Linked DNA regions of Homo sapiens: all the other regions are linked to region 6. Evidence: promoter capture Hi-C in 16 types of primary human blood cells and fetal thymus (Javierre and others, 2016). All regions are on one chromosome and are shown on one strand. Each heading gives the region's core, a stretch centred on a gene start or on the middle of the fragment in contact. The rest is flanking DNA. Distances are from core to core; before and after follow the strand shown.

Evidence for each region. Contacts are between HindIII fragments. The CHiCAGO score rates a contact against its expected background, and 5 or more counts as called.
Region 1: a contact is called between a fragment that was not itself captured here and the fragment with the promoter of NME1 in region 6, in 7 of 17 cell types (neutrophils, naive CD8 T cells, total B cells and 4 more). The highest score is 11.6, in neutrophils.
Region 2: a contact is called between the fragment with the promoter of LUC7L3 here and the fragment with the promoter of NME1 in region 6, in 3 of 17 cell types (monocytes, fetal thymus and naive CD8 T cells). The highest score is 7.4, in monocytes.
Region 3: a fragment that was not itself captured here is called in contact with the fragment with the promoter of NME1 in region 6 in 1 of 17 cell types (total CD8 T cells); the score reaches 5.0 in total CD8 T cells.
Region 4: a contact is called between a fragment that was not itself captured here and the fragment with the promoter of NME1 in region 6, in 3 of 17 cell types (monocytes, total B cells and fetal thymus). The highest score is 9.8, in monocytes.
Region 5: a contact is called between a fragment that was not itself captured here and the fragment with the promoter of NME1 in region 6, in 1 of 17 cell types (neutrophils). The highest score is 5.1, in neutrophils.
Region 7: a fragment that was not itself captured here is called in contact with the fragment with the promoter of NME1 in region 6 in 2 of 17 cell types (non-activated CD4 T cells and naive CD4 T cells); the score reaches 6.9 in non-activated CD4 T cells.

Annotation. Positions count from the first base shown.
Region 1 is chr17:50,780,383-50,783,903 of GRCh38, forward strand. No RefSeq gene overlaps it. Among named protein-coding and RNA genes, the nearest start is that of MIR8059, 13 kb to the left of the region's middle. The HindIII fragment of the contact is 5,194 bases long and covers 1-3,521 here.
Region 2 is chr17:50,718,226-50,721,772 of GRCh38, forward strand. LUC7L3 (LUC7 like 3 pre-mRNA splicing factor) reads left to right here and starts at 1,378. Exons shown (of 10, transcript NM_016424.5): 1 at 1,378-1,606. The coding sequence starts at 1,508. RefSeq lists silencers at 1,085-1,314, 1,655-1,714 and an enhancer at 1,345-1,484. The HindIII fragment of the contact is 10,215 bases long and covers 1-3,547 here.
Region 3 is chr17:50,813,992-50,817,975 of GRCh38, forward strand. No RefSeq gene overlaps it. Among named protein-coding and RNA genes, the nearest start is that of WFIKKN2, 20 kb to the right of the region's middle. RefSeq lists an enhancer at 3,616-3,695. The HindIII fragment of the contact is 422 bases long and covers 1,054-1,475 here.
Region 4 is chr17:50,761,588-50,765,525 of GRCh38, forward strand. ANKRD40CL (ANKRD40 C-terminal like) reads right to left here. Exons shown (of 4, transcript NM_001358683.3): 3 at 1,810-1,970. Among named protein-coding and RNA genes, the nearest start is that of ANKRD40CL, 4.0 kb to the right of the region's middle. The HindIII fragment of the contact is 1,184 bases long and covers 1,026-2,209 here.
Region 5 is chr17:50,795,483-50,799,027 of GRCh38, forward strand. No RefSeq gene overlaps it. Among named protein-coding and RNA genes, the nearest start is that of MIR8059, 29 kb to the left of the region's middle. RefSeq lists an enhancer at 3,103-3,545. The HindIII fragment of the contact is 8,240 bases long and covers 1-3,545 here.
Region 6 is chr17:51,152,248-51,156,301 of GRCh38, forward strand. NME1 (NME/NM23 nucleoside diphosphate kinase 1) reads left to right here and starts at 1,312. Exons shown (of 5, transcript NM_000269.3): 1 at 1,312-1,415; 2 at 3,404-3,533. The coding sequence starts at 3,408. NME1-NME2 (NME1-NME2 readthrough) reads left to right here and starts at 1,312. Exons shown (of 9, transcript NR_037149.2): 1 at 1,312-1,415; 2 at 1,978-2,197; 3 at 3,404-3,533. RefSeq lists enhancers at 625-1,824, 848-1,379, 1,163-1,582, 2,979-3,510. The HindIII fragment of the contact is 18,411 bases long and covers 1-2,597 here.
Region 7 is chr17:50,700,520-50,704,242 of GRCh38, forward strand. It overlaps ANKRD40 (ankyrin repeat domain 40), which reads right to left. Exons shown (of 5, transcript NM_052855.4): 2 at 49-197. Among named protein-coding and RNA genes, the nearest start is that of ANKRD40, 5.5 kb to the right of the region's middle. The HindIII fragment of the contact is 327 bases long and covers 2,143-2,469 here.

The DNA of each region.
Region 1 (3,521 bases), core at 1-2,500, 370 kb before region 6:
ACCATGCCCGGTAATTTTTTTTTGTATTTTTAGTAGAGATGGGGGTTCACTATGTGTTTGTTTGTTTTTTTTGAGACAGTCTCACTGTCACCCCGGCTGGAGTGCAGTGGCACAATCTCGGTTCACCGCAATCTCTGCCTCCCGGGTTCAAGTGATTCTTGTGCCTCAGGCTTCCAAGTAGCTAGGATTACAGGCGTGTGCCACCATGCCTGGCTAATTTTTTTTGTATTTTTAGTAGAGACAGAGTTTCGCCATGTTGGCCAGGCTGGTCTTGGACTCCTGATCTCAAGTGATCCACCTGCCTCAGCCTCCCAAAGTGCTGGGATTACAGGTGTGATCCACCATGCCTGGCCTTTATTAATTATTATTATTATTATTTGAGACGGAGTCTTGCTCTGTTGCCCAGGCTGGAGTGCAATGGTGCAATCTTTGCTCTCTGCAAGCTCTGCCTCCTGGGTTCAAAGCGATTCTCCTGCCTCAGCCTCCCGAGTAGCTGGGATTACAGGGGCGTGCCACCATGCCCGGCTAATTTTTTGTATTTTTAGTAGAGACCGGGTTTCACTATGTTGGCCAGGCTGGTCTGGAACTCTTAACCTCGTGATCCGCCCGCCTCAGCCTCCCAAAGTGCTGGGATTACAGGCGTAAGCCACCGTGCCTGGCCCTATGTTTATTATTATTATTATTATTTTGCACTGGCGTTGGATTTTATTGCGAGAACAGACTAAAGAGAGCAATGTGTCAGAAGCGCTGCTCAGCCACAGCCTCTTGGGTGGCATGGGAACAGAGCGGACGCATTACGGAAACCCAGTTCTTGGGCAAAAGATAAGGAAGCGAAGGGCCTCACTGGAAATCTCCTGGCTTCTGGGTGTCCAGGGTGGCTGTCCCAGGCAGGCGACGGTCTTCTTGGCGGCCAGGCTGCGTATGCGTCACGAGGAAGCCTCCAGATGGAGCGCGGCCGCCAAGGCGCAGTAGCAGGGCGACGACGCTCCGAGAGGTCCCCATCGTCAGACCCCTCTGGCTTCCATGGCGCGTCTTCAAACCCGGCCGATCCCGGCGAGTGTGGCGGCCGCGCAGCGCAGTGGCGAATTCGATCTTCTGGGTCTCCGGGTGGTTCCCACTGGGGCTCTCGCGCCGTCTCTCTGGAGCCAAAGGCCCCCCTCACACGGCTTTCGCCAGTGCATCGCTTTTCCCAGCGGAAGTTCACAGAGACAGGGGGATTGAGAAGGTCTATTTTTTATTTGTCTTTTAAACTGTAGCTATACCAGTGAGTGTGAAGTGGTATCTTATTTTGGTTTTGATTTGCATTTCCCTAATGACTAGTGATGTTGAACATCTCTTCTTGTGTTTATTGGCCATTTGCATGTCTTCTTTAGAGAAACATCTATTCAAATCATTTGCCTATTTTATTTTATTTTATTTTATTTTATTTTATTTTATTTTATTTTATTTTATTTGAGACGGAGTCTCACTCTGTCGCCCAGGCTGAAGCGCAGTGATGTGATCTTGGCTCACTGCAACCTCCGCCTTCCGGGCTGAAGTGATCCTCCCGCTTCAGCCTCTCGAATAGCTGGGATTACAGGCTCGTGCCACTGTGTCAGGCTAATTTTTGTATTTTTAGTAGAGATGGGGTTTCACCATGTTGGCCAGGCTGTCTAGGACTCCTGACGTCAAGTGTTCTGCCTGCCTTGACCTCCCAAAGTGCTGGGATTACAGGCATGAGCCACCGAGCCTGGCCTTTGCCTATTTTAAAATTGGGTTGTCTTCTTATTGAGTTGTAAGAGCCTTTTTACATATTCTGGTTACAAGTCCCTGATCAGGTATATGATTTATGAATATTTTCTCCCATTCTGTGGATTGTCTCTTCACTTTCTTGATGTGCACTTTTTTTTTTTTTTTTTTTTTTTTTTTTGAGACAGAGTCTCGCTCTGTTGCCCAGGCTGGAGTGCAGTGGCTCCATCTCGGCTCACTGCAAGCTCCGCCTCCCGGGTTCACGCCATTCTCCTGCCTCAGCCTCCCAGGTAGCTGGGACTACAGGCACCTGCCACCACTCCCGGCTAATTTTTTGTATTTTTAGTAGAGACCGGGTTTCACCGTGTTAGCCAGGATGGTCTTGATCTCCTGACCTCGTGACGCCCGCCTTGGCCTCCCAAAGTGCTGGGATTACAGGCGTGAGCCACCGCGCCCGGCCTATGTGTTTTACATTATGTTACTTGGTGCACGTTTTATTTTCTGGGGTCTTTCCCTTTTAGCAGTACAAAGAGATCCGTCGTGTTTCATATAATTTTTTGAGCTTCATGTCATGACCTTGGTTTTCTTTTGGTTCGCATGTGCCTGGATATCTTTGCCCTTTTTTTTTTTTTTTTTTTTTTTTTTTTTTTTTTTGCGATGGAGTCTTGGTCTGTCGCCCAGGCTGGAGCGCAGTGGTGGGAACTTGGCTCACTGCAACCTCTGCCTTCCGGGTTCAAGCGATTCTCCTGCCTCAGCCTCCCAGGTAGCTGGGATTACAGGCATGTGCCATGATGCCCCACTAATTTGTTTGCATTTTTAGTAGAGATGGGGTTTCACCATGCTGGCCAGGCTGGTCTCGAACTCCTGACCTCAAGTGATCTGCCCACCTCGGCCTCCCAAAGTGCTGGGATTACAGACATGAGCCACCGCGCCCAGCGGGCCCGTTTTAAAAGTCGATATCATTTCCCACCTGTATCTTGTGAGCATAGTCAACGCTCAGTGAAGGTCAGCTTCCTTCCTCTTGCCTGTCCTCATGAAATGCCCCTTCCCATACCGCCCCCGCGCCCCAGGAGTAGCCTTTGCTGTCCCAGGACTGAGCTCCAACATGGGAGCCCCTCTCAATACCTCCTCTTGAGCCTGCCCCTTTCCTTCCCTGCCATTCCCATGCAAGGCCACTGGGCAGGGCAGGTCCGCACCACCGAGTTGCCATTCTCCGTGTGTCCACCAGGGGCCGCCCCACTCCTGCCTGAGCTTCCTCCAAGAACCTGCATTTTTAATTCAGTCCCTCCCTGGTCTCCCATCTCTCCCAGCACCACCTTTGGGTGTAAAGCCGCAGAGCAGTATTCCTGGTTATCCAAGGAGTCCATAAACTGTCCTGTGGGAAATCAGCCCAATGCACCCTGGCTCCCTCATTCAGCAACTGTGTTGTAGTTTTCTTGTCTGCAAAAAGAAAATAATAATTTCCACCTCACTTAGAAAGAATATGTAGGCTGGGCATGGTGGCTCATGCCTGTAATCCCAGCAATTTGGGAGACCAAGGCGGGCGGATCACTTGAGGCCAGCAGTTTGAGACCAGCCTGGGCAACATGGCGAAACACCGTCTCTAGTGAAAATACAAAAATTAGCCAGGCGTTGTGACACATACCTATGATCCCAGTTACTCCAGAGGCTGAGCTTGCAGTGAGCTGAGACCGCACCACTGCACTCCAACCTGGGCAACCAAGTGAGACCCTGTCTCAAAAACAAAACAAAACAAACAAAAACAGAAAGAAATAATATATAGTTCGGGAGCC
Region 2 (3,547 bases), core at 128-2,627, 430 kb before region 6:
GAGCCCGGGAGGTTGAAGCTGCAGTGAGCTGAGATCGTGCCATTGCACTCCAGCCTGGGTGACAGGGCCAGACCCAGTCCCCCCAAAAATAAAAGTGTTGGGCTTGTTATCAATGTGTAGTGCCTTACATTGTATAAACTCATTTAATCTTCACAATAGCATCGTGGCTGGGGGCCGGGGGAGGACTATTGTAAACCCCATTTTACAGAAAAGGAAACAAAGGCACAGAGCGGCAGAGCTGGGATTACGAACCCAGGCAATCTGGCTTTAGAGACCATACCCTTAACTGTGCTAAAGCATTATCCCAACATACGTTGATATATTTGTGACTTTATTTCTTCAGCGATTATCTCCCCTCGCCAATGCACAGGTCTGCGGGAGCATGGACTGTCTGAAAGGTTCTGAGTTTAGCTTTAAGCACAGTGCCTGGCACATACCATTTGTTGAATAAATGGATCTACCTATCTATATATATGTGTGTGTGTGTGTGTGTATGTGTGTGTGTGTGTGTGTGTGTATATATATATATATATATATATATATTTTTTTTTTTTTTTTTTTTTTTTTTGAGATGGAGTTTTGCTCTTGTTGTCCAGACTGGAGTGCAATGGCGCGATCTCGGCTCACCGCGACCTCCGCCTCCCGGGTTCAAGCGATTCTCCAGCCTCAGCCCCCTGAGTAGTTGGGATTACAGGCATGCGCCACCACGCCAACCTAATTTTGTATTTTTAGTGGAGACGGGGTTTCTCCATGTTGGTCAGGCTGATCTCGAACTCCCGACCTCAGGTGATCCGCCCGCTTCGGCCTCCCAAAGTGCTGTGATTACAGGCGTGAGCCACCTCACCTGGCCTACTGGATCAATATCTTTTTAAAAAATTCCACACTGGGAGACATTTGGTGTAGGACTGAATCCCCGTATTTTAGAAGCCGCCTTGTCTCTTCTTGCCTCGATTTCCCATCCTGTTAATCAGGAGACTCAGGGCGGGAGGACAAAGCCAGGTGCAAGAGGCGTGAGCACAGCGACTAGGAAAATGGAGTCGGAAGCCGTAATCTTCAGTTTCCTCCGCTGCATGAGGCACCATGTGCACCACGTGGACTAAAGGAGACACTTTCTCCATTTTGAAGCGGTGTCCAGGCTTCAAGACCTAGGCTCCAATTTCTCACCGTGAAGAAGCTCGGGAAAACCGGGCGCTTGGGGAGGCGCGCGGGCAGAGGCTACCCGTCCCCGCGGCCTCTAGACAGGGGCGGAGTCCCTACCCGGCCTCCGCGGGCCCCGCCCCCGGACGGCGGAAGCCGAGCTCGCCCTCTCCGCCCGGGCCTGGGCGTGTCCCACGGGCGCACGGCATGCTGGGAAGGCGTCCGCGCGGCGGCCATTTTGTCTTGTCGGCTCCTGTGTGTAGGAGGGATTTCGGCCTGAGAGCGGGCCGAGGAGATTGGCGACGGTGTCGCCCGTGTTTTCGTTGGCGGGTGCCTGGGCTGGTGGGAACAGCCGCCCGAAGGAAGCACCATGATTTCGGCCGCGCAGTTGTTGGATGAGTTAATGGGCCGGGACCGAAACCTAGCCCCGGACGAGAAGCGCAGCAACGTGCGGTGGGACCACGAGAGCGTAAGTCCCGCGGGCCTTGGCCTGAGCCCGGGCTCCGTGGGGGAGGGGAGCGGGCGCGGGCTGTGGCCCTCCTGGCCGCGGCGCGATGTGGCCAGGGCCGCACCCGGGGTCGAGCGTCTGACCCGGTGCCCATGGAGCCAGGAGGGAGGATGCTGTCCGGACCCGGGGATGGGGGTGATTTGGTTTTGTTGTTCTAGTATCAAGGGGGTCCGGGAGAGCCCTTGGCATAATTGAAAAGCACCTTGATGAGGCGGGGAAACGCGGGAAAGAAGGATAGCAGCGTCTTATTAAATCTAGCGGCTCCGAGGTTTCACCTCATTATGAAATAGGGAGAAGGGCACATTTTTCTATAGTTTGGGTTGAACGTCGTATTTAGACTAAAATTTCTGACCAGGATTCATGGTAAAAATCGTGGCGGTATTTTATTTAAGTAATTACAGCATGACGCTTATACGGGGAAATAGAAATGTAAAAGAAGTCGTTTACTTGTTAGGGTTTACCGTGATGATTTACAAGTATTGTTCGTTAACAGTATTCTAAGAAGTCCCTTATAGAGGCAGCTGTCAAGGTTTTTTCTTCCACATAAAACTCATTTGATGCTCTTAGCCCGGGGAGTAAAGGTAAATATTATAACCCCAGTTTCACTGGTGAGACTTAAAAAGGCTCACCCAAAGTCTTGGCAACTGAGGAAACTAATCTTTGTAGTTCTGTTAGCTTTCCACAATCCTATGAAACTGGTTCTCTGCACCTACTGTAGCATTTCAAGTGTTTTGATCTAGTTTTGAACATGCAGTGTAATGTTTACTTTAGGTCTTATCTGGAGAATAGATACAGAATTTAATTTTACTTTGAGGTTATAATCTAACATGCTAATTTTAAAACAATTGCTAATCAAAATAGGAAGGAATAGTTCAGGTAATGCATGCTTCTTTAGAAAACTGTTTTCTTACTCTTTTTAAACGTAGGCTTTGGTTAAGGTAAAATTTCTTTTTTGCAGTGTAGGAAAGCAAGTTGGTGCTAGATGACTCCTTTTAGGACTTTAAGAAAGAGTAAGTTTGGCTCAAGTTGTGTTGGGGTGCTAACTGATTCCAAAGTAGTATGAAACATTCTTAGAGTAGAATTTATTGTTTTTAAGAGGTGGGTTTTTTGTTTTTAACATTTAGGCTCCCCATCCCCCCGACCATTTGTCACAATAGGAGACTAAGGAACTGCTTACCTTGACCATCTTTCTTTTGTAGGCATCTTTGTTATAGCGAAGTAACTTTTTTTTTTTTTAACTACCTGACTCTGTAACCTTTCAGTCTAAACTTTGCAAATGTGTTAGGAATAACGCTCAAAATCCTAAGTAAGGTAAAAAACCAAAACATTATGGCGATTTGGCTTATGTTCAATAGGTTATTTGTATATTTTGAATTCAAGAGAAAAATGCTTTCCATTGCACTCCTTATCAGTTGGAACAGCCTTGTATCTCTGCACCCTTGACTTTGAACACGTTTTAGAGAAACTGTTTTCTTTCCCGGGGTAATTTGTTGCCACATTGCATTGTATGTGATGGGTTTATGACTCTTCAATGATGAGGCCCTCAGAATAGCAATTTAGGTTTTATGTCATCTCAGCCGTAATCTGCTTTGCTTTCAGTTTTAGTACTTTTCACTAATTTTAACTTTCAGTGTTTATTACTAAAGTATTTAATGCCTTAATGACAGATTGCACTTCACTCTAGATTGAAGGATTTCAAGTCAGTTACTGGCATTTCAGATTGATATCTGCAGGGAAAATGTTGGTAGTGTTGAGCAAAAACAAAGCACATGGTCTCATCTAAATAGGTGGAATTATTGTATAATGAAGCTGGGGAAGCTGTTGATATCGTTTCCGGGTCATCTGCATATTCTTGTACTGTTGGCTGTTAGTGCTAAACCTGCAGGGATGGGCAAACCCATT
Region 3 (3,984 bases), core at 15-2,514, 340 kb before region 6:
TAGATAGATAGATAGATAGATAGATAGATAGAATAACTGCTGCAGCCATGTTGTGACCATGAGGAGAGAGACAAGGCAACATGGCCAGGAGGAGGTGGCAGCTCCCACAGAGAGGCCTGGTCACATCCATCATCTTGGAGCAGATCCCTGGGAGGAGGAGGAGAAGGAAGATGAAGCTAAGAGGCCCTGGGGTTGGTCCTCAGGGGAAGACTATGACTCCTGGTGACAGAGATGCTGGAGCCAGAGGGCAGAGGGATGAGTAGGGGAGCCAATCCCAGACAGGGCAATGGCATAATAAACTAATTCGTAACAAGCAAGACAGAGAGAAGACAGGCAACAGATATTTTAGAGGCACCACCAGTAGGATCTGGTGGCCTCTTGGATAGGGAGGAGGAAGAAAGGAGGATTCATAGATTTTCCTGCAATAAGGAATTTGCTGCTGAGTGCAGTGGTTCATGCCTGTAATCCCAGCACCTTGGGAGGCCAAGGCGGGTGACTCGCTTGGGCCCCAGAGTTTGAAACCAGCATGGACGACCTGGCAAAACCCCATCTCTACAAAAAAATAGAAAAATTAGCTGGGTGTGGTGGTACGTGCCTGTAGTCCCAGCTATTTGGGAGGCTGAGGTGGGAGGATTACCTGAGTCCTAGTGAGTCGAGGCTGCAGTGAGCTTGCCTACACTAGATACTTCAGATAAGTGGAATCTTGCAGTCTTTGTCCTTTGTGTCTGACTTCTTTCACTTAGCATAATATTTTCAAGGTTCACCTATGTTGGCTGGATGTAGTGACTCATGCCTGCACTTTGAGAGGCTGAGAGGGAGGATCACTTGAGGCCGGGAGTTCAAGACCAGTCTGGGCAACATTGCAAGACCACATCTCTACAAAAAAGAAAAGAAAATTAAAAAGGTTTCATCCCTGTTGTAGTATATATCAGAACTTCATTCCTTTTTAAGGCTAAATAATATTCCATTGTCTGGATATACCACATTTGTTTATTCATTCATCCGTTGATGGACGCTTGAGTTGTTTCTCCCTATTGGCTCATTGTTGAAAGAAGCTTGGTACAGGTTGCCCCAAGTTTGACAACAAATCCTAAACAACCCTAAACATTTTCACGGCATTAGTAATATGAATTGCAAAGGTGAAAAAAAGTATTAAATTCTCATAATAAAAAGAAAAATAGAATTGATTATTTTTCTTTTTTTCTATAAAAATTCATATTACAAAATCATTATAATATGAAAAGGCAATCAAAGAGTAGGTAGTCAAAATGTAGGAAGGAAAGGATTATAGTCAGGCACTTAATTATAAGAATATTATGTTAATTTTCTAGATTTGCTGAGGTGGGTGTTATCAGTTTTTAAAAATGTGTAATTTGTGATTTTTTTCATATTCTAAAAACTTGAACGCACACTTTTACTTGTAAGTTTATATTATTTTTCATAAGGAGAGCCTGCCCATCTCCCAATACTGTATAAGCTTTTGGCACTGCACCTGGATCCCCTCTGCCAACCCGGGGTCCACAACTCTGCCCTCCTCTATCCACTTCCTAGCAGCGTTAACCAAAGCATGGCCACTTCCTCCTTCTCTAAGTGCTTTGTCTCCTTGCCTTCTGTGATTCCACCATCTCCTGGCTTTCCTCCTATTCACCGGCTGCTGGATTTCCTCTTCTTTGCTTGTTTCCTCCTTCTCTAGACCTCTAAATGTAGCAGTATCCTGGGCCTTGGGACAGGTCCTTTTCTTCACCCACCTGGTGACAGTGCCAAGGCCATGGCTGTAAATATCTTTCTTTTGTTTTGAGGCAGGGTCTTGCTCTGTCACCCAGGCTGGAGTGCAGTGGCGTGGTCACAGCTCAACCTCTTGGGTTCAAGTGATTCTCCCACCTTAGCCTCCCAAGTAGCAGGTGCACACCACCAGGCCTGGCTAATATTTAAATATTTTTGTAGAGACGGAGTCTCACCTGAGGCTGCAGTGAGCAGCCTATCTCAAAAATAAATAAATAAAAAATTAGTATCTTTTTTTTTTTTTGAGATGGAGTTTCACTCTTGTTGCCCAGGCTAGAGTGCAATGGTGCAATCTCAGCTCACTGCAAACTCTGCCTCCTGGCTTCAAGCAATTCTTCTGCCTCAGCCTCCGAGTAGCTGGGATTACAGGTGCTCATCACCACACCTGGCTAATTTTGTATATTTAGTAGAGATAGGCCATGTTGGCCAGGCTGGTCTTCAACTTCTGACCTCTGGTGATCTGCCCTCCTCAGCCTCCCAAACTGCTGGGATTATAGGCATGAGCCACTGTGCTCAGTCAAAAATTCACATCTTGAATTTAGCTTTGTCCAAATAGAATCTTCACTCCTCCCCTTTCCACACCTGTTCCTCCCCGCTTCTTCCTTGTCTCTGGAGCAGCACGGAATGGGTGTTCAACGTGGTTTGTTGATGGTCAATGGCTGGGAGGGACAGTGGTACTTCCTGTTTCTGAGGGCTATGGCCGCTGACCTGGTTTGGGGAACTGACTGCCCCTGGGCTAAACTTCTATACAGTTGCCTTTGGGTGGCCATTGGTGCCCAAGCCCTGGGCGTCCTCTTAGAGCCAGGGGACCATCTAAGCCTGAGCAATCATATCTGTTCTTTTAATTGCAGTCAAATGCATGTAATGTAAAATTTACCTGAAGTGGTAATTTTAAGTTGTACAGTTCAGTGGCATTTAGTCCATTCACAACATTGTGTGGCCATCACCATGATTTAGTTCTAGAATATCTTCACCATCCCAAAAGGAAACTTGTGACCTATCAGCAGGCCTCCCTACCCAATTCCCTGCTTCCCTCAGCCTGGCAACGATTAACCTGCTTTCTGTCTCTACCTATTTGCCTGTTCTGGACATTTCACATAAATGGAATCAATATGTGGGCTTCTGTGTCTGGCTTCTTTCACGTGGCATAATGTCTTCAAGGCTCATCACGTTGTAGTGTGTATCAGAACTTCCTTCTTTTATAAGGCTGAGTAATATTCCATTGTGTGGATGGACCACATTTCTATATTTGTTCTTGAAGGAAGTGGAAGGGAGTGGAGGCTCCATGGCAGGGCAGGTATATGCCGGGGGCTGGAAAAATTCAACCAGGAGCACAACGATGCCAGCTCCTTGGGGTGTGGCTGGGGGTGCTGCAGCCCCTGAATCATCTGTCAACCCCATCTGTGGTTTCCCACACCGTGGTGAAGGCTTGAGGTGAGTGCTGTAGGGCTGACAGCCACGGGGTCATTACGGGTGAGATTATCCAGCGTCCGAGCTTTCTGCCCTACAGCCCCACATTCTTTATGCCTCAGGCAGCTTCTTCAAACCTCCCCGCGGAGACAGGAGGTCCCCTCCTCGGTCAGGGGAGGGTGAGGGCTCCGTGCCCCACGGTGCCGCGGTCAGCAACACGGGTTGAGCCCACGCGGGGCTCCCCCCAGCAGGGGGCGCTGAGACAAGTCGGGTTCCAGGGGCCTTTCTCCTACCAGGGCTGCTTGTGAATTTCTCCTACTTGGGCTGCTTGTGAATTTCCACCTTGCTGCGGTGTCTTCTTCCTCGGTTTACTTCACACATATTTGAGTGAGGATTACTTGCCCTTGGGGAGTCTGGACGGCTCCCCAATTTTGGGATGCAGCTAGTGCTGTACTGGCCGCCTCATAACCACCCAGGGAGCGTGTGAAAAGGCAAATTCCTGGACATGATCCCAGTGGGACCAGGACAGAGTCCATGAGGCCTCCAGGTGATTCTCATGCCCAGGCTTGGGACTCCACACGGCCCTCCTTCAAGTTCACGATCTGCAGACATCAGGCTTCTGCCTTCTACGCTGCACCGTCTTGCTTGCGGGCTCATCTCTCCTTTTAATCAATCCATTCAGGTGAACCAACCACAGAGAAATGGCTTATTCTATGTTTACACCTGAAAAATATTCATTCATTCATTAGTTCAATAGAACTTTATAGAACGCCCTATGCCAGGCACCAGATA
Region 4 (3,938 bases), core at 368-2,867, 390 kb before region 6:
TTGGGTTCTGAACCCATAAGGTATTGTTTTTTTTGAGACAGAGTCTTGCTTTTGTCGCCCAGGCTGGAGGGCAATGATGCGATCTTGGCTCACTGCAACCTCCGCCTCCCAGGTTCAAGTGATTCTCCTGCCTCACTTGGCTCACTGCAACCTCAGCCTCCTGAGTAGCTGGGATTCAGACATGCGCCATCATGCCCGGCTAATTTTTGTATTTTTTATAGAGACAGTTTTCACCATGTTGGCCAGGCTGGTCTTGAACTCCTGACTTCAGGTGATCTGCCCACCTGGGCCTCCCAAAATGCTGGGATTACAGGTGTGAGCCACTGCGCCCGGTCCCCATAAGATAGTTCTGTATTTTTTTTTTTGAGACAGGGTCTCGCTCTGTCACCTAACCTGGAGTGCAGTGGCACAGTCACAGCTCACTGCAGCTTCAACCTCCTAGGCTCAAGCAATCCTTCCACTTCCACTGCAGCCTCCCAAGTCTACTACACCCAGCTAATTTTTGTATTTTCCTGTAGAGACAGGGTTTCACCATGTTGCCCAGGCTGGTCTCAAATTCCTGAGCTCAAGCAATCCGCCCACCTCGGCCTCCCAAAGTGCTGGGATTACAAGCATGAGACACCACACCCAGCAGATTTTTGTTGTTAAGGTATCTGGAAAGCATGATCATCCCTTGACATGTTAGTTTACAAAGAATATACACTATAAGCCAAGACACCAGTAAGGATTGCCAAAGGAACAGCAGCTCACCACCTGTTATCCCAGCACTTAGGAGGATGAGGCCAGGGGGTTGAGAACAGCCTGGGCAATATAGCCAGACCCATTTCAAAAAAAAGAAATTAATGGAGTGTGGTGGTGTGTCCCTGTAGTCCCAACTACTCTGGAGGCTAAGATGGGAGGATCACTTGAGCTGAGGATTTCGAGGCTGCAGTGAGCTATGATCACGCCATTGCATTCTATTGTGGGTGACAGAGACCCTGTCTCAAAAAAACAAAAAACAAAAAAATTGCCAAAGGAATTTTGAAAGCTTTAAAGAAAAATTTCCAAAGAAATAAGATTTCCTTTCCAAAATTAAAAATTAAGATCTGTATTTTAAATCTGGGAAATATATAAAAATGCAAAACAATTTTTGTTTGCTAATATTTCAAATACTTAGCAAACCCACCCTTTGCTAAGCAAACAAGGATGGGTTTGTGTTTTTTTTTTTCCTGAGGACTATGCCATTTTATGTTAACCAGTCAATTTTGCAGAGATTGGTGGGGCCAAAAGCACTGAACTAAAGCCTTAAATTGGGGAGTCACTTGTCATTCAGAGGTTTGTTTTTTTTTGAGACAGGGTCTAGCTCTGTCGCCAGGCTGGAGTGCAGTGGTGCTATCTCAGCTCACTGCAACCTCCTCCTCCTGGGTTCAAGCAATTCTCCTGCCTCAGCCTCCTGAGTAGCTGGGATTACAGGCACGCGCTGCCATGCCCAGCTAATTTTTGTATTTTTAGTAGAGACGGGTTTTCACCGTGTTGGCCAGGATAGTCTCGATCTCTTGACCTTGTGATCTGCCCACCTCGGCCTCCCAAAGTGCTGGGATTGTACTGGTGTGAGCCACCGTGATCGGACCATTTAGAGGTTTTTAAAAGGTTTATGGATTAGATGTGCAAATCTTAAAAGCGCCAGATTGAAAATGACCTAGCTACCATGTTTGGCCGTTTTGCAGCCAGGATTTCTGGTGTCATGAAATGCAGAAGTGTAAACGATTGGCTCCAGAGAACATGATGTCACCCACTGTGATTCTGCATTTAGAAACTCTTAACCCTTACCTTTCTGAGCAGTGTGTTTGGTAGCTTTCTGATCTTCTCCACTCGTTCTGGTTTAATCCCCAGTTCACAGCAACTCACGTTTAGTAGGTTTTGGTAACTCAGTTCTTGTCTCTTCAGTTCAATTTCAATGAAGTCATTTTCTTTGGGGTTCTGAATTCTGACTTTAAACACAAGCTCTAAATCACCCATAAATTCAAATACAGTTTGTAAAGGAAACAAAATACCTGTCAGAGATTTTCATATCTATTATTACAGCATAAATAATCCTAAAAACTGAATGTTAAGTAGACATGGAGCTTTCATGGGCACATACACACTTTGCATTAGCTGAGGGTTCTTTTCTTGGAGTGTTGGGCAAGCTCTGGGATGTATGCCCCCATTATATCCACTGAAGACAGAAAGCTTGCAGCTTTAAGCCAGCCAAGGATTTAAAATATGCAATGGATATTTAAACACATCACCCTTGGGCAATACATAGCAGGTGCTCATACCTTGTTGCTTATCTGGAAAGCTTCAGGGAAATGTATAGCCCTGGGGGCCCTGGTGTCCTTAAAGAAGCTATTGTGCAGAGGAGCAAATCGCTCTTGAGATTCCTACCCACCACCCCCACTCCTCCAGAAATAGGATAATTCTACCATCTTTCAGGACAGTGGCATTGTATTCCAACTTAACTGTCCTGAGAAGATACAGTATGAACTAAAAGTCCAAATGGAAAGCAGATGGTCAGTTTGGCTTTGCAACCTGGTCACATAGGGGCTGAGTCTTCACCTAGACAGGTGTCACTGGGTTTCTTGTTATCACTTGGGTCCGTTGTTGGCAAGTGTGGATTTGTGCCTTCTTGTTTATATTCACCTGGGAATCAGGAAAGAGTTGAGAAGGAGCAGTACCTGACCAGTTGGCTGTCTGCCAGACAAAGGACAAGGATGCCCCACTTCCACTTCCTGCCCTGCAGCTTATCCTCCCCTTCTCAAGGGAAAAGGCAAGTCAGGAAAAGGGCAGTAATGACTTTCAGTCTTGAAGAGTAATTTTCTTTAATCACCACCCAAATCATGAAAAGGAGCTGAGACAGTATTTTTAAATGGTGCGTAATCTGGGGAAGAAATATTTATAATCTCTGTGCTTAGCTCAAGTTTTTACTTAAATATTTTTGGCACAGAGTGCTTTATGTCTTCAGTTCTCTAGCAGAGATACAGTTAGGAGGGTGTCTTTATAAGGAGAAATTTTCTCACCCAGAGGGAAGGGAAAGGAGTGAATATTTAGAGTGCTTTGCATATGCCAGGCCTTTTGTGTATTTCTTTCTTTCTTACAATATCCACTGAACATGTTGAAAGCCTGCTTTGCACCAGGCACTGGGCTAAGCCCTGGGGAAATCATGTTCAAAAATCCCAAAGATGTCTCTGTGCTCCTGGAGTTTGCAGGCCAGCAGAAGAGACAGATATTAATAAATGGGAAATCACAGTTGTCGGGGCATGATGAATGTGAAATACACAGTACTTTGAAAGCATGTTAGGGGTCAAGGGAGGCCTCCATGAAGGTTGATTATTTGAGCTGACATCTGAAGGATGAATAGGCTTCACTAGATCCAGAGGGCAGAGGAGGTGAAGAGCTTTTCACAGGGCCCTGTGGAGAGTTCAGCATGGCTGCAGGGCAGAGAGCATGGGGGGACTGAGTGTCAGACAGGCTGGCAGGGGCCAGTTAGTCCAATTATGTAGCTTCTTGTCACATGAGATAAGATACACGATAAGGTAAAATATACCCTGGATTTTGGAGGCAATAAAAAATTTTCATACTTATATGTTGACATAATGATTTGCATATAGCGGGCAAAGTATATTATTAAAATTAGTTTCACCTGTTTTTACTTTTTAAAACATGGCTACTAGCAATTTTAAATTACATATGTGGCTTGCATTACATTTCTATTGGGCAGCATTAGTCTAGATGAAAGGTTTTGGTCTTTGTCCTAAAACACCACCAAGCCATTCTGGTTTTTAGCAGAGAGCTGTCATAATCAGACTTGCATTCTGGAAAAGAGAAAAGCCTCACTGTCCCCAAAAGAATCCTGTGGGGTATGCACATTATTATTTTCATTTTCAGACAGGAAAATTGAGGCTGAAAGGGGAAGTAGT
Region 5 (3,545 bases), core at 1,043-3,542, 360 kb before region 6:
GCCTGTAATAGCAGCTGGTGTCACCTTAACTAGAGTTGAAGCCATGGGAGCAGAGCAACCAGAGCAGGGAGAGGCAGGAAGAGAACTGAGGCAGGACCCTGGGGACACCTCATTAAAGAGCGGCTGACACGGAGGTGGCACAAAGGAGACTGAGAAGGAAGCAAGAGGAGGATGAGGGCAGAGTGGCCTTCTGGAAGAAAAGGAATGTGGTGGCCAGGCATGATGGCTCACGTCTGTAATCTCAGCACTTTAGGAGGCCAAGGCAGGTGGATCACTTGAGGTCAGGAGTTTGAGACCAGCCTGGCCAACATGGTGAAACCCCATCTCTACTGAAAATACAAAAACTAGCCAGGTGTCATGGTGTGTGCCTGTAATTCCAGCTACTCAGGAGGCTGAGGCAGGAGAATTGCTTGAACCTGGGAGGCGGAGGTTGCAATGAGCTGAGATCACACCACTGCATTCCAGCCTGGGTGACAGAGCGACACTCCGTCTCAAAAAAAAAAGAATAGGCCGGGCGCAGTGGCTCACGCCTGTAATCCCAGCACTTCAGGAGGCTGAGGCGGGTGGATCACAAGGTCAGCAGTTCAAGACCAGCCTGGCCAACATGGTGAAACCCCGTCTCTACTAAAAATACAAAAATTAGCCAGGCATGGTAGCAGGTGCCTGTAATCCCAGCTACTCCGGAGGCTGAGGCAGGAGAATCGCTTGAACCTGGGAGGCGGAGGTTGCAGTGAGCCGAGACCGTGCCATTGCACCCCAGCCTGGGCGACAGAGCAAGACTCCGTCTCAAAAAAAAAAAAAAAAAAAAAGGAATGTGGTTGACGGAGAGAGAAGTGTCTTAGTCTGTCTTATGCTGCAATAACAGAGTACCTGAGACTGGATAATTATGAGGAACAGGGATTTATTTCTTATAGTTCTGGAAGCTGGGAAGTCTAATATTGAGGGGCCGGCATCTGGTGAGGGCCTTCTTGCCACATCATCTGACAGTGGAAGGGCAAGAGAGGTAGAGACAGAGAGAGAAAGGGGCCAACTTCATCCTGTTATAAGGAACTCACTCCCACTGAGATAACAGCATTAGCTCTTTCTTGAGGGCAGAACTTCCTGGCATAATCACGTCTCATTAGGCCCTACCTCAACACTGTTGCATTGGGGATTAAGTTTCCAACACATGTTTTTGGGAGTACACATTCAAACCACAGTGAGAAGAAACTCTAGATACGTATGTATACATACATACATAAATATATGTACTTTTTTTTGAGACAGGGTCTCACTCTGTCACCCAGGCTGGAGTGCAGTGGGGGTGATCATAGCTCGCTGCAGCCTCAGCTTCCTGGGTTCAGGCAATTCTCCCACCTCAGCCTCCTGAGTAGCTGATACTACTGGCATGCACGCCACCACACCTGGCTGGTTTTTTTTGTTTTGTTTTGTTTTGTAGAGATGAAGTCTCACTATGTTGACCAGGCTGGTCTCAAACCCCTGGGCCCAAGGTCCACCCACCTCAGCCTCCCCAGGTGCTAGGGTTACATGCATGAGCCACTGAGCTCAGCCAAACACTATATATATATAATATAAAAATATATATGTACAGAGGCAAAGGCTTAAAAAATAATTTAAAAAGTATATCTATATTTTTCCCAAACTAAAAAGGATGTGTCAATTGAGGCCAAGAGGATGCAAACAATCCAAAGACCAAAAGCCTATTATTTAATTAACTTCCTTTCTTTGCTTGTTAGATGAGATTTGGATTTGATGTGTCTGTTTTCTTGGCCCTGGTCTGCTCATGAAAGCCTTCTACAGGGGGAAGCTGTGGGCAGGTTCCTATAGCGACTCTTTGGGAGAACTCTCACAGGGCTGAGTAATTGCTTAGTTCTGCCTGCTTCGTTCCCTTCTGCTTCATAGGTACTACAAAATAGTTGTTGTCCACAGTGGTGAGCCCCGCAGTGAGTGAAAACAAGTTCTGGAAGTTCAGTGTGCTGTCTTGGCACTGGTCCATGTCCTTCATTGTTATGTCTGCAGCCAGAGGGTCTTTTTGATTCTCCAAAAATCCAAGGAACTCCTTTCCCATGAGTACTTTCAGGCCCTCCTTCATTAAGTAGCCTTTATCCCCGGCAAATCTGTGAAACGTAAACAACACGGTTTCCATGGTGTGTTCCATTGGACTGGGGTTGTTCGTGAGATCTGTTGAAACCTTGGCTGGAGGTGCGTTGTGGGCGCTTGGCAAGCTGGGCCTCAGGGCCCCTCGGGAAGGAGCAGTATTAAGAACTTGTTTTGCTATCTCAAGGACAAAAAAACAAACACCGCATGTTCTCACTCATAGGTGGGAATTGAACAATGAGAACACTTGGACACAGGAAGGGGAACATCACACACCGGAGCCTGTTGTGGGGTGGGGGGAGGGGGGAGGGATAGCATTAGGAGATATACCTAATGTAAATGACGAGTTAATGGGTGCAGCACACCAGCATGGCACATGTATACATATGTAACAAACCTGCACGTTGTGCACATGTACCCTAGAACTTAAAGTATTAAAAAAAAAAAAAAGAACTTGTTTTGCAAAGGAGCCCTGGGTCAGGCACAGGGTCTGAGGCTGGCCTTGTGAGGGCCCCTTTCCTTGTGGGGACAGGCCACCACACCACACGGCAGATGCAGCTCAGGGCAAGATGCAAGGTGGCAGGACCCAGGAGAGATGCTCAGTCCAAAGTGGAGCGGTGTTCAGGGGCTCTGGGCTGGGAGATTTACGTGGGGGTCTTAACTTCTTGAAGTCATGAACCCCTCTGAGAACAAGGCAAGAGCTAAGGCTTGAGAGCAATGTAGGCAGCCGTACGCGCTATTTCACTCCAGCCTCGGGGCTCTCATGGACCTCCTGAGGCTGGCCCGTGGGACCCAGGGAAAGAGCCTCGGCCTTGCAGAGTCTCTTACAACCTTGACTAGCTGCCTCCCACAACCCTGCTGGGATCACTACCTTACAAAGGAGGAAATAGATGCCATGTAGAACTTGCTTGGAGTCACACAGCTACAAGTGTGACGCCTGAATTTGAAGGCAGGTGTGTCTGACTGTCCTGTTCCCTTAGCGGTTCAGCACGGGGCCTCTTCAGCCGTCCCAAGGCATCCCCAACACAGAAGGCGTCTAGGGAAGGGGTCAGGGGAGGGTTCAGGGAGGAGGGGATGTCTGGGCTCAGCAGGTGGCATGGCCATGGGAGCCTCAGGGCTAGGGAGAACCCAAGGCTGGGAGAGAGGCAGGGCCTTGCTCAGGACGTGGCAGAGACAGGGGTGAGCTCAGGCGGAAGCCCGAGCTGTCAGGCAGCCCTGAGTGGCCGGAGCGGAGTGGTGGACCCAGGAGTGGGGAGACGCCTCATCCAGCAGCCCACGGTCTGTTTCCTTCTACCCCTGGATCAGGAGAGAGCAGGAGGCCTGACGTTAGCTAGACTTCCCTCTGCCTAGCATTGTCATTACTCAGCCTTTGCTTTTCTTGGCCTCACAAGCAAGGCTGGGGACAGGAACGAATATGACAGTGTCTCAATCACCATAGGGAGTCAGAG
Region 6 (4,054 bases), core at 62-2,561:
TTATTTATTTTATTTATTTTTTATTTTTTTGAGACCGAGTCTCGCTCTGTCACCCAGGCTGGAGTGCCCTGGCGCAATCTCGGCTCACTGCAACCTCTGCCTCCCGGGTTCAAGCGATTCTCCTGCCTCAGCCTCCCGAGTAGCTGGGACTACAGGCGCCTGCAACCACGCCCGGCTCATTTTTGTATGTTTAGTAGAGACGGGGTTTCACTATGTTGCCCGGGCTGGTCTCGAATTCCTGAGCTCAAGTGATCCTCCCGCCGCTGCTTTCCAGCGTGCTGGGATTACAGGCGTGAGCCACCGCGCTCGGCCAAAAGTTTTAAATTTCAGTAAGTTCCAATTTATCAACTTTTTCCCTGTATAGATTGGTCTTTTGGTGTCGTCTAAAAACTATTTGCCTGGCCCTAGGTCCTGAGGATTTTTTTTAACTTTTTTTTTCCCCATAAGTGATTTATTGTTTTACATTTAAATCTATGATTCATTTTGAGTAAATTTTGTATAAGGTGAGAGGTTTAGGTTGAGGTTCTTTGGGTCTATATTCGTCCAATTGCTCCAGCATCATTTGTTGAAACGGCTCCTGATTCCATTTTTGTACCTTTCCCCCGTTCATTTCCCCTTAGAGCAGTGGGAATGTTTTTTTGTTAGTGATGATGTCATGCCTTGTGCAAAATCTGTATTAGCATCTCACAACATAAGATTTGGCTCTATTCTAACGGCATTTTCCACCACTCGATGTCCACCGTAATACTTGGCTCTCGAAGAATCACTGGGCTGGCTCCCTCACTTCATGCAGGTCTATTCTATTATCACTTACTCAGAGATTTCTCTGGCCTTTTCTTCACAGCACTTACAAAATGCGATCTATTACATATTAATTTGCTTATTTGCTTCTTGTTTTCCTATACTCCCATCCCTCCCAGAAGCTCCAAGAGAGCATACTGTTTTATCCCTAGGGCCTAGAATAATGCGTCCACGTAGTAGGTACTCAAAATTTTTTGCTTGACAGGCTAGAAAAGGTGAATAAACACAAAGCGGGAGCGAAAAGTCTACTTCTAGGTCAGGCACTCTTTGGACTTCACGCAACGTGTGAGCGCCACCTCTCGGGAAGCCAATTTGCTCGCGAACGAAGGAAGTGAGTCAGAGAACCCGGGGGTGGAGAGAAGAAAGCAAGCAGCTAACCGGAAAGGTCTGAAAAAGCTAGCGCCGGAAGTTAAACTGCAGAAAGTTGTTCCCTAGAATGACTGCCTACTCCCAAGAGGAAGCGTGGGCGAGCGGTGTTCTGCAAAATGGGCTCTCCGGCAGCGGATCTGCGCAGAAGCGTTCCGTGCGTGCAAGTGCTGCGAACCACGTGGGTCCCGGGCGCGTTTCGGGTGCTGGCGGCTGCAGCCGGAGTTCAAACCTAAGCAGCTGGAAGGGTAAGAGGTGTTCGGGATCCTGAGAGGAAAAAGAAAGGAGTGTAGTCGCGGGAGTGGGTTAGGTGAGGAGTTAGTGAAGAGATGAGTTCAGCTCTAAGAGGCGGCGAGGAGGATCGGATGGGAGGAGGGGCAGGGAGCGCCTGTGGACAAGTGCAGACCGGTCGGCGCACGTCCCACGCCACGTGGACTCGCCTTTGTCGGTGGCCGCCTTTCTCGTCAGGCCGCGACGACAGGGCTGTGCCTTATTTGTGTCTGTCGAGAGCAGTGCCGGGCACGGAGTTGGCGCTCTGTAAGTGCTTGCTGAATAAATGACGGGTGTGTGTGTCATTCATTCAGCAAGCACTGAGTGCTTACTGTTGTGTCACCGGGACCGATGTGGAGGGACATTTTTAGGGTGTATTTCTGGCGCTTTAGTCCTGTTTTCTCCTGGACAATTTATGCTTGCCCCGCACCCCATCGTGCGATTCTCCGCAGTCTTTGGGCTTTGTCTCTCTCTCTTTTTTTTTTTTTGGAAGTTGCAGAATGGTGATAAATGATTTTCTTTGCTCCTATTGACTGCTAGGCCCTGTGGCTAGGTACCATAGAGTCTCTACACAGGACTAAGTCAGCCTGGTGTGCAGGGGAGGCAGACACACAAACAGAAAATTGGACTACAGTGCTAAGATGCTGTAAGAAGAGGTTAACTAAAGGACAGGAAGATGGGGCCAAGAGATGGTGCTACTGTCTACTTTAGGGATCGTCTTTCAAGGCGAGGGGCCTCCTATCTCAAGCTGTGATACAGGGTAGGTCATGAGCGCAGTCTTCTGTAAAATGAGGGATCTGGACGGAATAGTTACTCTCTAGGCTTCCTTTCAGTATGATGTCCCGTATCAGATATTCCTAATGTCTGTAGTTCTCCCACACCCCACCGTTTATTGGCTAGTCAAAATATTCTTTGCATTGTAAAGTGTAGCATAACATTACAAGAATGGATTAATGGGTTGGGAATGCTGGGTTTTGGCCTTCATTCTGGTGCTGTGGTCCTGTTTCCTCATTTGTAAAATGAAGGGGGTTGTAAAGATATATTCTCTAAAACCCCTAATGCTATGGCTGTGGCATTAAGTCAAACTATTATTTCTTACTGCTTTGTACCGGACATCACTTTCACATTAGTAAAACTTTTCATCAGTGTAGTTTCTCCCAAGCTTGATTATTGAGAAAGATAGTGCCTTGTTTTTAACATCCTGTATCCTAGTTCCACCGCAGTGTTTGGTACACAGTAGATGTTTAAAAGAAGCTTATTAAATCAAATGGTGGCCAGGCTCATGGGGCTCACGCCTTTAATCCCAGCACTTTGGGAGGCTGAGGTGGGCAGATTACTTGAGGTCAGGAGTTGGAGACCAGCCTGGCCAACATGGTGAAACCCCATCTCTAGTAAAAAAAAATACAGAAATTAGCTGGGTGTGGTGGCACGCACCTGTAGTCCCAGCTATTTAGGAGGTTGAGGTAGGAGAATTGCTTGCCTGGGAAGTGGAGGTTGCAGTGAGCCAAGGTCGCACCACTGCACTCCATCCTGGGCGAAAGAGCAAGACTCCATACCAAAAAAAAAAAAAAAAATCAAATGGGGCTGGGTGTGGTGGCTCATGGCCATAATCCCAGCACTTTGGTAGGCTGAGGTGGGCAGATCACTTGAGGACAAGAGTTCGAGACCAGCGTGGGCAACATAGCGAAACCCCATCTCTAAAAAAACCCCACAAAAACCAAAACAAATGAAAATAAAATAAATCAAATGGGATAGAAATTATAGTCCTTGCTTTTGGATCCTTTCCCACATTGACATATTAGTTCATAGATCAGGGGACTGGGGAGGAATTGGGTTTTTACCAGAGGGAGACCTGGAGCTGACCTGACAGATTTAAACCAGCTTTATGGGATAATCCGCTTGAGACGGATGACGCTGTAGGCAAGTGATTCACTGCTGTTTCATTCCTCTACCTGCCTATCCCCAGAACCATGGCCAACTGTGAGCGTACCTTCATTGCGATCAAACCAGATGGGGTCCAGCGGGGTCTTGTGGGAGAGATTATCAAGCGTTTTGAGCAGAAAGGATTCCGCCTTGTTGGTCTGAAATTCATGCAAGTAAGTGGACTTCATTGTTCCCATTTTGATTCCTTCATAGTATAGGAGAACACTGTGATTAACCTGTTTCTCCCCGTCTTTCTTATTTAAAGTTCTCCACGGTAGAGTGAACACAAGTGTCTTGAGACCTGGAAACTCCTCAGTGCCCTAGCGTTTGGCTACATCTTGGAACAAACCAAGTTATTTAGGATTTTCCAAAATAGTCTCTGTAATAGGAGGTGCATTGCTACGGGAAAAGCAGTGCAGAGTTCCACATATGACTGCATCTCTGTAATTTCTGACTGAGAGCTGAGCATGTTTGAGTTCTTGGTCTTGAGCTTCCTGAGCAGATAATTTTAGAGAGATTTTTTTCCCCCTTTGAGACAGGTTGTTTTTTAGCAAGAAAGTCTTTCCATCATCAATTACTAGACACTAATAAATGCTTATTGTTTAGCATATATTAGGTATCATAGGAGCTGGTGGAGGAAAACTATGGTTTTGGTTTTGGGGAGGTTCTTCAGAAACAGCAGAGAGCAGATGTA
Region 7 (3,723 bases), core at 1,056-3,555, 450 kb before region 6:
CTTCAATGAGTCTGAGGAAATCAAAAGTTCCCCCAAACACAGACTCACCTCCCATAATCTTCCTGATTTCTCTCCTTGATGTTAACTGGACTGGCATTTCTCCTTTTGTGGTAAGAATTTCTTTGTCAGCTCCTGATTTTAACAGGTAAGAGACCACCTGACCATGGTTTCGTTTACATGCCCAGTGTAAACAAGTCCTGTACCAAAGAAAATAATGATTGAAAAAGAGGAGAAGTGATTTTGGATTTCAGATTCTAAACATTAGTAAATAATGTATAAACAAGCCTGTTAGAGTTCAGCTAGAACCAGGTAACCGGGCTGGTAATCTCAACTTTTCACAAAGCCGATGAGCAAAATATTTAATATGCTTAAATTTTGTTTTTAAATTTCATTTCTGGCTCCTGAGAAAAACTAACTTAACCTAGGAGTTTTAATTTCAATAGCCTCCAGAAGGTAAGCTCACTGGCTGGCTAACTCCAATGATACCGTGGAATATACTCTATCAGTATCGCTCATTAGATCATCTCAGTCTCTGAAACATATTTTTCTATTGCTATATTCCTTTTCAGGGACTATGGAAACTCACTTCATATGCCACCTGAAGATTCAATATTATCAGGATAATAACCATCTCCTATCAGCAGCTTGCTCTGTCACTTAAATTATTATTATGACAGCAGATATTCTTGCCTGAATCCCAGTTGCTCACTTTCTTTTTCCTTCTTACTTTTCTTTCCTTAACACACACACAAAGGATTTCCAAATTTCCATTTTTAAAAAGTTGGCTTCTCTAGTTCTCTCCAGAAGGCTACAAACATATCCTCATCTGCGTAAATGTAAGGCACTGCACACATACTTTAATTCCTGAGGTACTTAAAAAATATACATCAACAACCAAAATTCTTCACGAACAGGTTCTTCTAACATATCAGACTCATTTAAGTAAAACTAATCACTCAATATTGTACACAGAGGAAGCAATTCTGCACACTCTGAAGGGCTACTATTTTAATACTGTACAGAAACATAATTAGCATGCCAGCAAAAACTCCATCTTAACAGAAATGAAAGATTCAGAGCAACTAAATCCATCCCTAGGTGCCAGAGCTGACTGTATATTATGGAAGGAAAATACTTTTCGCCTGTGTTTTGAAAGGTCTTCTTTCACCAACTCTCTAACTGAACTGAGATACATATCTTCAGAGCTCTTATAGCCAAATACAGAAATGAAGATTAGAACAAATGTTCAATATTGAAGGTTAGTTCACTAACCTGGGAAGTATAATTATTTGGAAAGTTTATATGATTCCAGGAAAAAGCTGATTTGCCCTGGGCTTAACATTAGTAACTTACAGAAAGTTAGCATGTCTGGCTGGCTGGGAGCAATTCCATTGATGTCTCAGAGTGACATTCTACATTATGGTTCATTAGAATTAGATTATCCAGGTTCCTTTAAGGTGTATTCCATGATGCAATGACAAAATTATTGCTAATTTGGGAAAAATAAGAGTCTCGTTAAGTTTGGGAGAGAAGAGTCTTGATCAAGCTCCCTGAAGGCAAGGAAGTGTTTGCTTGGCATGTATTAATTAATATTTACTGAATGGGCCAGGCACGGTGGCTCACACCTGTAATCCCAGCACTTAGGGAGGCCAAGGCAGGTGGATCACTTTAGGTCGGGAGTTTGAGACCAGCCTGCCCAATAGGGTGAAACCCCATCTCTACTAAAAATACAAAAATTAGTGTGATGGTGCATGTCTGTAATCCCAGCTACTGGGGAGGCTGAGGCAGGAGAATTGCTTGAACCCAGGAGGTGGAGGTTGCAGCGAGCCAAGATTGTGCCACTGCACTTCAGCCTGGGCAACACAGCAAGACTCCATCTCAAAAAAAAAAAAAGTACCAAATGAGTAAACTAAGGATAAAGTGGACCTTGCTTGAAGTAGAAGGATCCAATCTACCCTTGATTCTGGGCAAACTGGAACCTTGAGTGTGTTTGTGTGTGGATGTCTGTGGCACAGGCTTAAAAAGTGAACAATTATAATGATAAGTGAGCCCTCAAAAATGAATGAAGCATGATGAGAAAAATATGCTCCCTTTTGGAAATAAAATGCTCACTTGCTAGTAGTAGATCACTTGTTCGTGGCAAGCTTGAGAGTAAAGGAGGTAATTTACTACCAGTGGGTCTGAGAGACTCTGGGACAAACCAACTTGCTAAACTACCACCCATGTAAAGCAGGGTTAAGTCAACATAGCGTGGCCCCCACAGCCCTGTGCCTTAGTGATCATCATTTACCGTCCAGAGCTGTGCGGCTCTGGGCAGCCATAACTCAGAGCCCCTGCAGCCAGGTAATATTTTCAAGTTCTTCATGAACCAAGGGTTATGCATGACACTTGAATTACAACTGATGTGGGGGAATGATTAGTGATCAATCTAATTGATAGATTACTCTATCTTTGAACTTCAACTCCTTAAGCTTTACATTTGCAGTCAAAATATCTTATTAGTGTCAGAAACTATTTCAGACCTGAGGCACTGGGTGTCATTCATCAACAGGGCATCACTCATTGGTGCTGAAATTGTGATTACTGAGCAACTAAGACTTGAAAGCAGTCACCATTCTGCTTTGCAAATGCAAGAGAGTACGTTTTTTTGAGGGTAACCTTATATTCCATTATCTAGCATATTGCTTCATAATAAGAAAACAACAACAATGGCTAATACAGGTATAATGCTTTACGTGTTGGACATTGTTCTAAAGGCATTACATGTATTAACTTATTTAATCCTCTAAACCCATGAGGTAATACTACTGTCAACATTCCCCCCATTTTACAGAAGAGGAAACAGACATCAGCAAATAAATAAGCAAAGCACGCAGTACGCTAGGTGGTGATGAAGTATGACAGCAATAGTAAAGCAGGGAAAGGCATTAGGGAATGACAGAGGTTGGAAAGGGGCATTGTGCAACTTTAAATTGAGGGCCCAGGAAAAGCCTTGCCAAGAAGGTGACATCTAAACTAAAATCTGAAGGTGGTGAGGAAGCAAACCATGTGATATCTGGAGGGAAAGCATTTAAGAGAGTGGGAAGACAAAACGCAAAGATCTTGAATCAGGACTGTCTGGTATTCCAGAGAAAGCAAGGAGGCCAGGGGAAAAAGGTAAGCAGAAGGGCAAATCCCATGAGATTAGCACAGAGGTAAGGAGGGAAGATGTGGGGACAGGAAGTAGAAATTGTAGGACCCTGTAGGCTTTTACTGAGTGAGATAGGAGCCATTTTTGAGCAGAGTGAAATGATCTGACTTATGTTTTAAGTCAGGATCCCTCTGACCACTGTGTTAATTAAGAAGACTGTATGATATAAGCTTAGGAGCAAGGACACTAGTAGGAGGCTATTGTAATAATCCAAGCAAGAGAAACAATGGTGGCTTTGTATCAGAGGTGTAGTGGTAGGGTTAGTGAGAAGTAGTCAGATTCTGACTGTATCTGAAGGTGGAGCTCATAGAATTGGCTGACTGGATGTCGGCTATGAAAGACAGGAGGCAAGCAGGAGGCAAGCAGGGTGCCAAGGGTTCTGGCCTGAGCACTCCTGAGAGGCTGAGGACTCAGAGGAGCAGGCTTGAGGTGGTAGAGGGATGAGGGGAGACTTGGAATTCAATCTTGGACATGTTGAGTTTGAGGGGCCTATTAGACAGTTCCTCCAATTAAATCTACAAGAGGCCGGGCGC